2 separate regions of the Homo sapiens genome follow, and region 1 is linked to region 2. The links are contacts of gene promoters, found by promoter capture Hi-C in blood cells and fetal thymus (Javierre and others, 2016). All regions are on one chromosome and are shown on one strand. The core of a region is centred on a gene start or on the middle of the fragment in contact, and the rest is flanking DNA. Distances in the headings are between cores, read along the strand shown.

Evidence for each region. Contacts are between HindIII fragments. The CHiCAGO score rates a contact against its expected background, and 5 or more counts as called.
Region 1: a contact is called between a fragment that was not itself captured here and the fragment with the promoter of SOCS6 in region 2, in 4 of 17 cell types (M0 macrophages, M1 macrophages, M2 macrophages and 1 more). The highest score is 12.9, in M0 macrophages.

What each region holds. Positions count from the first base shown.
Region 1 is chr18:68,835,138-68,841,619 of GRCh38, reverse strand. CCDC102B (coiled-coil domain containing 102B) reads right to left here. Exons shown (of 8, transcript NM_024781.3): 2 at 4,251-4,871; 3 at 2,694-2,914. The coding sequence starts at 4,856. Among named protein-coding and RNA genes, the nearest start is that of CCDC102B, 40 kb to the right of the region's middle. The HindIII fragment of the contact is 1,025 bases long and covers 3,357-4,381 here.
Region 2 is chr18:70,283,895-70,290,905 of GRCh38, reverse strand. It overlaps SOCS6 (suppressor of cytokine signaling 6), which reads right to left and starts at 1,861. Exons shown (of 2, transcript NM_004232.4): 1 at 1,816-1,861. RefSeq lists a silencer at 1,126-2,025. The HindIII fragment of the contact is 7,416 bases long and covers 1-2,808 here.

The DNA of each region.
Region 1 (6,482 bases), core at 2,620-5,119, 1.5 Mb after region 2:
TCTGAAGTTTGGGACAGTTCAAATTATTTTATCTCAGTCTCTGTTACTTGAGATTTGGTATTGCCAAACCTCAGCTTCCCAAATGTTTAGGTACACATAGGCCTATAAGAGGATCAGCTTTCCTGGCCTTACTCCAAATTTTCTACCTGGGAAGTCTTTATGAAAGTCAACAGAAATATATAAATTCTCAGTATATGAGAAACTTTTATACACTGGATAATTATTCATAAAACTGAACAGTACTCAGAGTGCAAAGAAAACTATAAAGTTTCATCTATTTGATGAGGAGGTTCTAGTCAAGGACAATGGAAAAAAATGAGTCCCTGAGTTTTCTGAGTTGATTTCTGTGCACTAGTCAAGAAGAGAATTTTCCCACTAGATGGGAATGCAGAAAAAAATACATTCACATCTCAGTCGAAGCCACCCACTCACTGATATTCCAGGAAGAAGAATTTAAAAGATTAGATGGATTTATAAGTAATAGCATATCCTATATTCTTGGAAAATGTTCTCTTGTGATAGAAAAAAAGACTGATTGCCTCATGCGGATTGCATGCAAATGTTGATTCATGGACACAGGAACCATGACTCATCACGTCCGTGGGATTGTTTCTTAAAAGAGGAGAGTAGGAAGACAAAGCCATGGAAAGCTTCCTTTTTTCTCTTATTCTTTGGCCTGTCTATGGATTATAGACTGAAGTCACTGAGAACTGCAGAATGTACTTACTCTGAGAATTGTTCATTTATTCCAAGAAAGTAAAAAGTATATGTTGTGTATATGTATATGGATAAGCGTGTTAAGACAGAACATGCATATCTTTAAAACTGACACCTTAGAATAGAAGTTTACATCTAGAAAAACACAGCTCTGCATTGCTCCTATTAGACTGCACTGGGGAAGTAATATTGTATGTGGGCTGGAGAGAAGTCTATAATTACCAAAAAGTTAAATGCTTCAAGAAGTAAAACCACGGAGATTAGAATGTGACTGAAATGTATAGGGCTAGATAAAATTGTCACTATGTGTACGAGCCTAAAAATTAAATTCATTTTTATTCTGTTTTCTACTAATGTTGGTTGCCTCTATTAGGAATTTACACTTGGTAGAGTAATAAATATTTATTCTGTACATAGATACTTGTATGATCACAATCTACTAATCTAGTGAAATACAGATGAAGAATCTGAAAAAGGGAATTGGTGGCACTAGTAAATTTCAGAGGGACTAATGAGAAACTTCTGGCAGAAAGTAAGTGGTAAAGAACTTACTGTATTTGTGAATGGCTAGCATGCATATTTATCCCTATTTCAGTCCATTCAAGCCAGGAAAATTAAAACTGTTATATAATATATACTTATATAATACATTGTGTGTATATATGCATACATATCCTTCTTGCTTTTCTGGTTCTGCCTATTAAGATTTTTATAACTAAGAGATAAAAAATAATTATTTTTAGATTTTGGAACCTTATTTATATATTAGATATTCCACATTGTGCTAATAAAATTGTAAGCTGATTGCATAGAAACGAAAATCCATATTGAACATTTCATATTACTATTCTCTTTCCCAGATGTTATTTGTTCTTGATCTTTATGAGAATTCACTGAGAAAGGCTATGACAGACTGTATTTTGCAAAGATCGTTGCCACAATGACTGCATCCCACACACCCTTATTATAAAATTGTTTTCACACTCCTTCCATTGAAAGTGCCTCTCTCTCTTTAATCTGAGTCAGACTTTGAGATTCTCACCACCGATAAGTGGGTCTGACTTTTGAGGCAGAATCATTCAAATGGCGTTTTCTTCTCTCTGTGTTCTTAAGATGTTCACTTGCAACCTAGCCCCAATGTTGTGAGGAAGCCAAGCACCCCCTTAAATAGCCCCAGTGCAGGTGTCCCAACTGAGGCATAGATGAAAACCGAGATGGACTGCCAGATATGAGTGAAAGAGGCTGCAGCCCCCAGCCTTCCATGCATTGCCAGCCTTTGAGCCCTTGCAACTGAAGGCACAAGTGAGAGATACAATGTCCATGCCAAGCCATGCTCGCGATTCTTGAACAGAAGACAGGGTGGTTGCTGTTGATATGTTTTAATGATAATTACTTGGAAAAGTTTGTTTCAAGATAATAGATAACTGGAACATAACAGCACTACAGCTATTTTCACAAAGGGGCAACAGCCAACATCACATAGCTAGAAGACATCAGACCAAAGATGAATATCCAGGCCAATTAAGCAAAAGCCTGATGCCCTTAATGGTCCATGTATAAGACTACTTTTTCTGTAATAAATATCTCACAAAATTGTGATTTTTCCACTATTAATATTAACATATTTATTCATTTTTACTGACCAAGTCCAAGATGCTGTCAAACTTAAATAATACACTGGATATTTTAACCTTGTACATTAAGAATTCATATACAATTAAAGTGAATCTACCAGAGAAGATAAAAACATAGTCATGATAAAAGTCAACTTAAAAGAATGGAAAACACTAACAAGTTATAAACTACATTTTAAAATTCAACATATGAATATATATCAAACTAATTTCTTTAAATCCTAAAACTTAATGACTAAACATGGATAAAATACATTATCAAATGACCAATCTATCTGTATTAACAATTTTAAGTGATTTGAAACTTAGACTTGGTTAAGGGAGACAATGATTAGCACTTACTCTCTTTCCTTCCATAAGATTTTTTGGAATTCATCCAAATGCACCTGCAAAGCTGAAATTTCAGTTACTTCATTTTCCAAAGGCAGATTTATTGCTTTCAGTCTCAGCCCAGTTTTCGTTTCACCGTTTCCAGAACCACCATTGTTGAATAAATCAACACCATCTAGATTGGGCTTCATCTCCTCACTTAATTTTAGAGAATCAATAACCACACCTTGTTCCTGAAGACAAAACAAAACAAAACATATTTAAACCTCCTGGAGAAAAATCATGATGACAAAACATTTTCATAAAGAAATAAATGTTACGATACCACAACCAATTCATATTTTTATTTCATTATCATTCCCTGAAAGTGTTGTGTGGCCACACTTACTTGCATTCTTCTTTGAGCTTGTTTTTTTCTATGTTCTACTTTCTCATAAAAAAAATACATTTCTCAAAAGTTCTGCTTTAACTCTTGTTTGTTCTCTTTTTCTAATCGCAGCTAAAAATAACTCTGCACAAACTTGAACAGCTGTAAATAATTTTTAATGAGTTGATGAATTCCTCTTTCAAGTTTCTTTTGTCATAAGACACTTACAGTTTCAAAGCAATCATTTTTTAACATTTTTGAAAGACAAGATAGAATTTTCAGGAAGCTGTTGAATATTTTAAAAAGCTTGCTTATTGCTTCATTTTAGTTCCCCTTATTGCTTTAATTCATGAGTCACATCTAAATAGAATTTAATGGGGCGCTTTAATAAACATGGACATCAGTACTAGAGCAACAACTGCACGACACTCTTAGAGCGTAACTCAAAAACTTCACAGGACTCATGCTATTGGTATTTGCCTACAATTTAAATTTGCCCTGGTTTATAAGTTTGAAATGAAAGACAATTTCAAATAAAATCTCAATGAATAGTCAAGTTCCAGTAAAATCTCGATGATACTTCACTTTTATTTTATTTTTTAAGTAGTATGTGGATTCCAGGTTACCTAGGATGATTCATTCCTTAATTCTCTCAAGAATGAGCATTGCAATCATCTGTACTATAATATTTTGACAAGCAATAAAATAAGATGTGTTGTTCACGGAAAGTATTGAAGTCAGACGAAGGATACATATACATATCTTTCTTGTTAGGTCTCCTAACCCCCAGTACCTCAGAATGTGACTGTTGGTGGAGACAGGGCCTTTAGGGAGGTGATTTAGTTAAATTAGGGTCATTAGGGTGGGCCTAATGATGGTGCCCTTACAAGAAGACCTTAAGACACAGACATGTGTACAGAGAAAAGACCATGTGAAGACACAGGGAGAAAACGGCTTTCTATAAGCCAAGGAGAGAGGCCTCAGAAGAAACCAACCCTGCTAGCATGTTGATCTTGTACTTCTAGCTTCTACAATTGTAAGAAAATGAATTTCTGTTGCTTAAACCACTGTGATTATGGTACTTTGTTATGGTAGCCCTGGCAGGCTAGTATAATCACCATTGCATTTGTCACTTCCTTCTTCCTCCCCATCACTATATATGACCTTCAGAAATTCACATCATCTCTGGATTTTTTTCTTACCTTATTATTTGTGTCCTCCTTTGTAGAAAATTGTCTTTTTACCAAATACTCTCTGATAGACTCATGCATTTGTGAACTCAATTGAAATTGGTCTGTATGTTCACAGGATTCTTCTACGAAGCCAGGAAGCTTCAGATCCTGGGTAACTTTAGCTTCTAATGCCTCCTTCTGAGGTGGCAAACTCTGTTTCTTTTTCAGTGTACTCAATTCTTTCATCGCCATCTCTAGTTTTATTCTGAGTTGTCTTCCTTCCTCCCTGGCACTGTTCCTTTCAGCTCGAACTTTACTCCATTTTTCTCTCCAGTTGGCAGTGCAGTCCGACCACCACCGCATGGTCTTTTCCATCTGAGCAGCTCTGGCCTTGACTTCTTCAAGCTCCCGCAGGCGAAGTTCTTCACAAATATCCCATTTGTTGGTGTTATATGAGTGAGCACAGAAATTGTGAGCAGCATGAGATTGTAGCCCATGAAGTGGGAAGCAGGTATTACAGGTATCCCTGGGGGGTGAGGCAGGTGCCACCATGTCGCCGCGTGACTTAATTGATGATTGTTGCATCTGGAAGATCTGTGTTTCCTCAATTAATCGATGTATGGAATCTAAATTCATATTTATTTTTAAGACCTGAGAAAAGATAGAGACCATAATTTCACGCTGAAATTTCCCTTGTAAATACAGGAACAAGACCTACACTTTTTTTTTTTTTTTTTTTGAAAATTGATGAAAACAATGCTTTTTTTTTATTTTTGACAGAGTCTTGCTCTGTCACCAGGCTGGAGTGCAGTAGCATGATCTCGGCTCACTGCAACCTCTGCCTCCAGGGTTCAAGCGATTCCCTTGCCTCAGTCTACTGAGTAGCTCGGACTACAGGCATGCGCAACCACGCCCAGATAATTTTTTGTATTTTAGTAGAGATGGGGTTTCACCATGTTGGCCAGGATGGTCTCGATCTCCTGACCTCGTGATCCACCCGCCTCAGCCTCCCAAAGTGCTGGGATTACAGGCGTGAGCCACCATGCCTGGCCGTGCTTTTTCAATATTGCATATTTTTCCAGTGTAACTAAAAATACAGAGGAATTTAAACACTTGTAACTATCCACTAAGAAACAGAAAATGCTCGTATTCAATTTTGCCAAATACAAATAAAAATATAAAGATGCAATTGAAGATAGCATATGACATAAATAATTCATTTTGACAATTCCAGTTCTACTTAGGTCATATCTATTGTAACATTGTCCACTACGAAATACAAATTGTAATATTTATTGTCCACTAACTACATAATGGTTTTCTTTATCCCTGCGAAGCCTCAATTTGTTCAGGCAGAATGCACAACCTATTGATCTATAGGTTAACAAGCCTCTATCCCAGTCCCAGAGGTTGAATCATAGTCTACATTTTCCATGATGCCCTTCATCTGTTGACTATTGACTAGTCTCAAGGCAGCCATAGGGTCTGGCTCTGGCGGCTGGGATGTGAGATGAAGGGTACTGAGAAGATTTCCCATCTAGAAAAATATGAGAACATCACAATGAGGAACTCTCTTTCCTCTGCCTTCCGTGTGTTTGAATAAGGACATAGTTCTGGAAGAAGGTGAGTATAACAGCCTTCTCATAACATTCAAAATGGTGAATCATGAAGATAAGAGACTGATTTAAGGTGCGAATTATGGCATGACACGTAGAATGCATACCTCTGAATCCTTTGCTATGTGAGCAGGATAACCTATATTTATTTAAGTTATGATGGTTGAGTTTTCTGTTATTTTCAGGCAAAAGCACATCTAACTTCTACATGAATTAATTTCTTACTGTGGTTAATATTGTGATAAGGTCAAAAATAAAATATTATGAAAAAGACATGGTTCTTGTGTGTCAAAGATTTTACAGTCTGGTGGGTGAGAGAAGCAGAGTTAAGTTTTAAAGATACATAATTCACATTATAACAAATATGTGCATTTGTTCAATAACTTTATTTATTATGTAATATGTGTCAAGTCAGTGTTAGATTCTTAGGTATGGTCAAGGTAATCTAAGGGGTACTGAAGAAGTTATGACTATCGCTTAGAAATGAGGAAACTTTACAGCATAGATAACACTACACAGAGTCTTAGCCCAATGCAAAGCTTTGTAAAGGAATTAAAATCAACTTTCCATACAAATACCAACACACAAATTAATTTGTAAAGGTATACCATATGTAACAATACATATACCCAATTCTTTATTCAAC
Region 2 (7,011 bases), core at 612-3,111:
ATGACCCGAGGGTGTGCGCTTGGGTGGGAGGCCCTGCTGAAGAGAAAGGGGCAAGACTACCAATTTAGAGGGTAATTTAGAAGATAACGATAAAGGTAAGAGAGAAACAGTGTTTCAAAAGAGATGCTGAATGGAGTTCTAAAAAAGTATAGATTCGGGTGAATACCTGGCTGACCCTTACCCAGGCACAAGCGGAAAGCCCTGGCCAAACTCCAGATAGAAGTTCTTCTAGGAATCCTTATCAAATCCACTGTCCACGAACCAGGTTCCTCCAAGGCACCAAGGCAGGCTTAGGGAGGGTGTTTGAACCAAAGGGTTAAGGCCACATATTTAATTTAGAGCTGAATGGATCCTAGACCTTACCATATCCACGCGTGCACAAAACCCACTAGGAGGAGAAATTAGAAAGCCCACGGAAAAGTATTACAGACTTTTTTTCCGGTTTTTGTGAAACCTGGTGAGCAATGCCATTCGTGTTTTTAAGTAAGGCTGTCCACAGCATTAAATATTACAATTAAGATTCGTTCATTCAAGTAAGCTAAATGGATTTAATGTTGTGGTAGTTGGTTAAAAACAAGTCAAGATAAATTGCTACCTTCAGTGGTTGAGAAGATGTCAGATATTTTATCTTGAAGTAGAACGTTTACTTTTGTTTGATTCCAAATGTATCTTTATCCCAAGGAACACAGTAAATTTAAAATGTCTCTGGGAGACGTTCAGTGTGTAATTCACGTTATTTCTGTCATTACTGTGTTCTCTGTCCTCATGCACAGTGCATGCTGCCTTATCCGGGCAGACGTTGCAGAAACATTTGTTGAAATGAATTCAACATTATTTATTTTGCTACCGGAAGACTGAGTCCCGCCACATATTCCCACCTGGCCCTTCATTCCAAACAGTGGGGATGGGAACCCCAATTTCACATTCCAACTGAACGTTAAGTTGGCACACACACTACTGCACATATCCCAAGTTTTGTGCCAGGATCTGCCCCTGAGAAACGTCCATAATTCTGCTCCGTGAGCCACAAGGGTGTACCTGAAGTTGCCAACTCCCGAAGCAAACTGAAAATTCAGGCCCGTGTCGGTCCCAGGAGCGGTTTAAATTCCACAATCGTCCGGTCCCTACACCCGGGTGAGTGCGCAGCCGGCCGGCGGCACCTTCAGCCGCAGAGCAGCCCCGGCCTGCACCTCCACCAGCGCCGGCGCGACCTCGCGGTGGGGCGGGGGCGTCCCCGAGTCCCAGCGCCGCGCCCCAGGCCCGCCCTCGCGCCTGCGGCCTCGCCGCGCCCCGACCCCGAGCCCGAGCCCGAGCCCGCGGAGGTCCGAGGAGGGACCCGGCCGGGGCGCAGAGCCGCGCAGGCCCCGCGCCGCTGCCCAGGCCTCGCGGAGCCCCGGCCTCTCCCCGGCGAGCTGCGGGCAACAAAGGCGGCGGCCCAGGCCGGCGCGCCGCGGCCGAAGAGGCCGAGGGGTCGAGAAGAGCCGTCCGCGGCCGCGCAGGCCTCGGCCCTTCAGGGGCCGCCGCGCCCCGGCCCCGGCTTCCCGGTTTCCGCGTCCCCGCTCCCGGGACTGGCCCCGGCCCCCGTTCCCCGGCCCTGGCCCCCGCCCGCGCACCCGCCGAGACGGCGCAGGGCCTCGCGCTGACCCAGACCCGTCGCTGCAGCCCCGCGCCCGGCGGCCTCCCTGGCCCGGCCCGCGCCGGATCCGCCCCCTGCACTCCGAGGCGAAAACCAGCCGTGTCCCGGACCGCGGGCGACCCGGAGGCGGACGGCGAAGCCCTGCCCCTGCCTCCCGCCCGAGCTCCCCGGACGCTTACCCGGAGGCGGCCCGGCTCCGCTTCCTCGCCCAGCGCCGGCGCGACTGCCGCGCTCGCCTTCTCCTCTCGGCAACTCCTCCTCCCGCCTCCTTCCTCCTCCTCCTCCAGGAGGGGCGCGCGGCCGCGGCGCCTCGGCCCGAGCGGGGAGCGGGTGCGGAGGAGCCGAGCGGGCCGCCCCCCGTCCACTACTCGGGCCCGCGGCGCAGGCGGGGCGTCGGGGCGCGCGGGGCTGAGGCCGGGGGCCGCGCGGGGCGGGGCGGGGGCCGGGCACTAAGTGGGGGTTCCGAGGGGAGGGGCGCCGGGCCGGGGTCGTGGGGCGGACGGAGCGCGGAGCCCTGATCCCTTCCCCCACCCCCGCGCCCCTCCGCTGGTGCCTGCAGGAGGCCGCTCCTCCGGCCCCCAGAGTCCCTGTCCTGGTTTTTCCTTTGGTGCTTTCCCTCTGGCGGGGGTGGCCCCGGCTAACGCGGAAAGGAAAGTCTCCTCGTTCCCCGGCCCCGCGGATTTGGCGGCTGCGGTCCCTGTCCCCCTGTGGCGGGCGGTCGGACCCCCGCACTGCCCAGGTCCGCTGGGCTCGCGCGGGGACCCCGGCCTCGTCCCCGCAGGGAGGGGACCCCAGGACAGACGCGCGCGCACGCTGTGCAGAGCCACAAGTGGGGAAACCCTCCCCACACCTCGACTAAATTGTGAAAAATGCTTTTTAAAAAACCAAACATTCCTTGTTTCAAGCCATCCACTTTTCCATTTAGTCGTTTTCAGGGAGGTTTTGTACAAGGAATAGTTGTTTGTGCCGCCGAATTCCAAGGTAGTGTGGTATACAAGTTGCATGTTGGGATCTTGACTAATTTCTTTGGAAACTGGCTGAACATACTACTAATGTATAGCAGTACCACAAAAACTTGATTTTTGTGCATAAGAATCAATAGGAAAATTTGTATTTCTCTTACGATGAAAAGTGGTTAAAAAAATGAATATCATTAGTATTTCAGTAAAGCTTGGGGGGAGATAAATATTAAAATCTAATGAGAATTATTGTGGACTTTAAAAGTTGTGTTTCTTGAATAGTATGGACCTTTTTAAAAGAAAACCGAAAGGACAGAGAAAAAAGGGCTAGAAAAAAAGTCTAAAAAGCTGTTCAGGTATGAGTTGGTACCCGAATTATATCTCAATAAAGTTGTTAGTTACAAAAAAGTTCAAGTCCAGTAATCTTAATTCCTATGTCCAATATACAATCTGGATTTCCCCAAGAAATCTAGATTCATAACAGAAAAGTTGGATCTTTAGGTGATGCAAAGTTGATGTCATGTATCATACACTATCATTGTCATCTTCAGTTTTTACTTGAATTTATTAATAAAATACTACCATTATTGTTACCGTGATTGAAATGCAACACAATTCTCAAATATCTAATTACAGTGATTGGAGAATGTAGGTTGAAATAGAATTGTCAGAGAAGTTAGTGGGAAACACAACAAACAGTAATTAACGGTGGCTCATGCCTGTAATCCCAGCACTTTGGGAGGCCGAGGCGGGCGGATCACAAGATCAGGAGATCGAGACCTGCCTGGCCAACACAGTGAAACCCCATCTCTACTAAAAATACAAAAAGTAGCTGGGCGTGGTGGCAGCTGCCTGTAATCCCAGCTACTCAGGAGGCTGAGGCAGGAGAATCGTTTGAACCCGGGAGGCGGAGGTTGCAGTAAGCCGAGATCGCACCACTGCACTCCAGCCTGGGTGACAGAGCTAGATGCCGTCTCAAAAAAAAAAAAAAGAAAAGAAGCAAACGTTTCAATCCTACTGCCTCGGAGTTCCAGTGTCTCCCTATATTTTCTAAAATGACAACCAGTAGGAGCTGTGCAGCAGGGGGTTAGTGAGCCTTTCACGCAGCAATGGGGCTGTGCAGGATGGGGAAGTGTTGACTCTTTTAGGAGACACTTAAATGTATGGTTAAGACCCTGGGGTTCTGAGTCTGGCAGAGCTGGTGCAGAAGCACAGTTTTGACAGGTCATACAGCTGTGTGACCTCAAACAAGTTTCTCAGTTGGAACCTCAGTTTCTACTTTTGTAAAGGGTGAGTGAGGGGGCTCGATATTAATTATGTCAAATAGTTGTAAGATTACATGAAATAATGCACAAAAACCCCTAGGGGCCTAATCTAGGTAATAAAACTTCATGAGTCCGGCCTTGCATTCAGCTCTTTTGAATATGTCATATCCTTCAATTTTCATATCAATCCTATAAGGTCAGTATTAACATCACCGCCATATTTCTGATGAGGAAACTGAGACTTGCAGTGTGATAGTAGTAATTTACTCTCCCAAAGTCACAGCTACTGTGGGGCAGAGTTGGAATTCAGGCTTAGGCCTCTGTGATTTCAGAATATGAGCCCTTTACCACTACATAGTGATAACAATAACATAGCAACAACTTCAGGGTAGAGATATTAGTGTCTAGATATACTATTAAAATCTCCATGCATGGCTGAATTCCAAACACTTCTTGGCCATAAACATGTGATATCTTCTTGGCTGTCTGCCAATGAACCCTTTTTTCCATCAGCACTCACTCTCCGTTTGGAGGAAATCTTATCTTTGCCCTAACAACACCCAGCACAGCTAAGATATGTGCCCATGACTCACCTACTTAAACTCTTGCCTAGGCCAGACAGGGAGGCTTACACCTGTAATCCCAGCACTTTGGGAGGCCAAGGCGGGAGGTTCACTTGAGGCCAGCGATTCGAGACCAGCCTGGGCAACATGGCCAGATGTCATCTCTACAAAAAATTAAAATATTAGCAGGGCGTAGTGGCATGGAGGTGGGAGGATCACTTAAGCCCAAGAGTTCCAGGTTGCAGTGAGCTATGAACATGCCACTACACTCCAGCCTGGGCAATAGAGCAAGACTCTGTCTACAAAAAGAACCAGGCTGGGCGCAGTGGCTCACACCTGTAATCCCAGCACTTTGGGAGGCCAAAGCCAGTGGATTACTTGAGCCAGGGAATTTGAGACCAGCCTGGGCAACGTGGCAAAACCCTGTCTCTACTAAAAATACAACAATTAGCTGGGCGTGATGGCGCATGCCTATAGTTCCAGCTGTTCAGGAGGCTGAGGCTGGAGGATTGCTTGAGCCCAGGAGGCAGAGGTTGCAGTGAGCCACTATCATGCTACTGCACTCCATTCTGAGCAACAGTGCGAAACTCTATCTCAATAAACAAGCAAGCAAGCAAGCAAGAAAGGAAAAGAAACCAGAAAAGAAAGAAAAGAAAAGAAAAGAAAAGAAACTCTTGTCCAGATGCTTACTGTTGTGCAAGTGATATAATCATGGAAAGCTCCTGGAAGAGGATGGGATCACATCTACTGTAATAAGGTACCTGCACCAAATTGATCCTGGTGCCAGTCCCCAAAGCCTTCTAATAAATCCCTGTTTTGCTCAAGATAACCAATTTCTGTTGTTTACCGTTACAAATGCTGTCTGATAGATATGCTTGTTAAAAAATGGGGATAGCCACTGGTCATATTGAAAATCTATCCTCTTAACAGTGACAGGGGAGCACAGTTCCACTGCTTCCTCCTAGAGCAATAGCTTATAGAGCCAGAAGCACCCTTAATGATCATCCTCAACATCCTCTTTTTACAGACATGAAAACAGTCCAACATCCTCATTTTAAGGAGGAGGAAACAGACTGAGAGATCAAATGATTTGCCCAAAGTGACAAAGTTTTGACATTTCCCAATTTTGAGTCTTGTTTGATTTCTAATATTAAACCTCTTCCCTTCATCTAAAAGGGGAAAAAGAGAAGTCTAGACTTGAGAAAACTGGGTGGAAGCTGGGTGGGTTACAGTGTGCAGCCTTCCATCCTAGTCCTGGTGATTCAAGTACAGTCATACCTCACTTAACGAAAGTGCTATGTTCTGAGACAAGCATTACTAGGTGATTTCGTCCTTGTGCTAACATGATAGACTGTATTTACACAAACCTAGAGGTAGCCTACTACACACCTAGAATAATAGGGTATAGCCTGTTGCTTCTAGGCTACAGACCTGTACTGCATGCTACTGTACTGAATTATGTAAGCAAATGGTAACCCAATGGTATTTGTGTATCTAAACATATTTAAACATAGAAAAGGTTCAGTAAAGATACAGCATTATAATCTTACAATGGGATCACAGTCATGTATGCCATTGACCAAACCATTATTCGGTGCGTGACTGTACATCCTTAGTGCTAAAAGCACTCTCGGGGCCCTGTGAAAAGCTGCAAAGCAAGCAAAATTTACCACCCTCCACTTCCTTCCCTCCCTCCCATTGCCGTTCTGCTGTTCCTGCCTTCCTGTCTTGATGGTTTAGGCGCCATACTCCACACACACAAATTTCCCTTGCATGGTACTTGTCCTGGGTTACATAATGTCCTCCAAAGAAGCGTGTCCTTTCCAGAACCTTAGAATGTGACTTTGTTGGAAGTGGGATCTTTGCCACTGTTAAGTTGAAATGAGGTCCTGCTGGGATAGAGTGGGCCCTTAAATCCAATGTGATTGGTGTCTTTATAAGAGGACAAGAGACACAGAGACAGACACACAAGGAGAGGAGAGGCGGTAAAGACACATAGAGAGAACTCTGGGGAGGCAGAGACTAGACCAATGCATCTGCAAGTCAAGGAACACCAAGAATTGCTGTCAACACCAGAAACTGGGAAGAGGAAAGGAAGGATTTCATCAGAGCCTTCCGAGGCAGCATGGCCCTGGTGTCACCTGGATTTTGTAATTCCTACATCCAGAACTGTGAAACCATAAATTTCTACTGTGTTAAGCCACCTAGTTGGAGGTACTTTATTATTTTATTGTTTTATTTTATTTTATTTTATTTTAGAGACAGGGTCTCACTCTGATGCCCAGTGGCAGGATCTCAGCTCACTGCAACCTCCACGTCCTGGGCTCAAGCGATCCTCCCACCTCAGCCTCCTGAGTAGCTGGGACTGCAGGCACACCACCATGCCTGTCTAGTTTTGTTTTTCATTTTTTTTAAGAGATGGGGTCTCACTGTGTTGCCCAGGCTGCTCTCAAACTCCTGGACTCAAGCGATCTGCCCGCCTGAACCTCCCAAAGTGCTGGGGTTACAGGTGTGAGCCACCATTTCCAGCTGAAGGTATTTTATTGTGGTAGCTCTAGGAAATGACCACAGTGCTCCTAGGCCTGCCC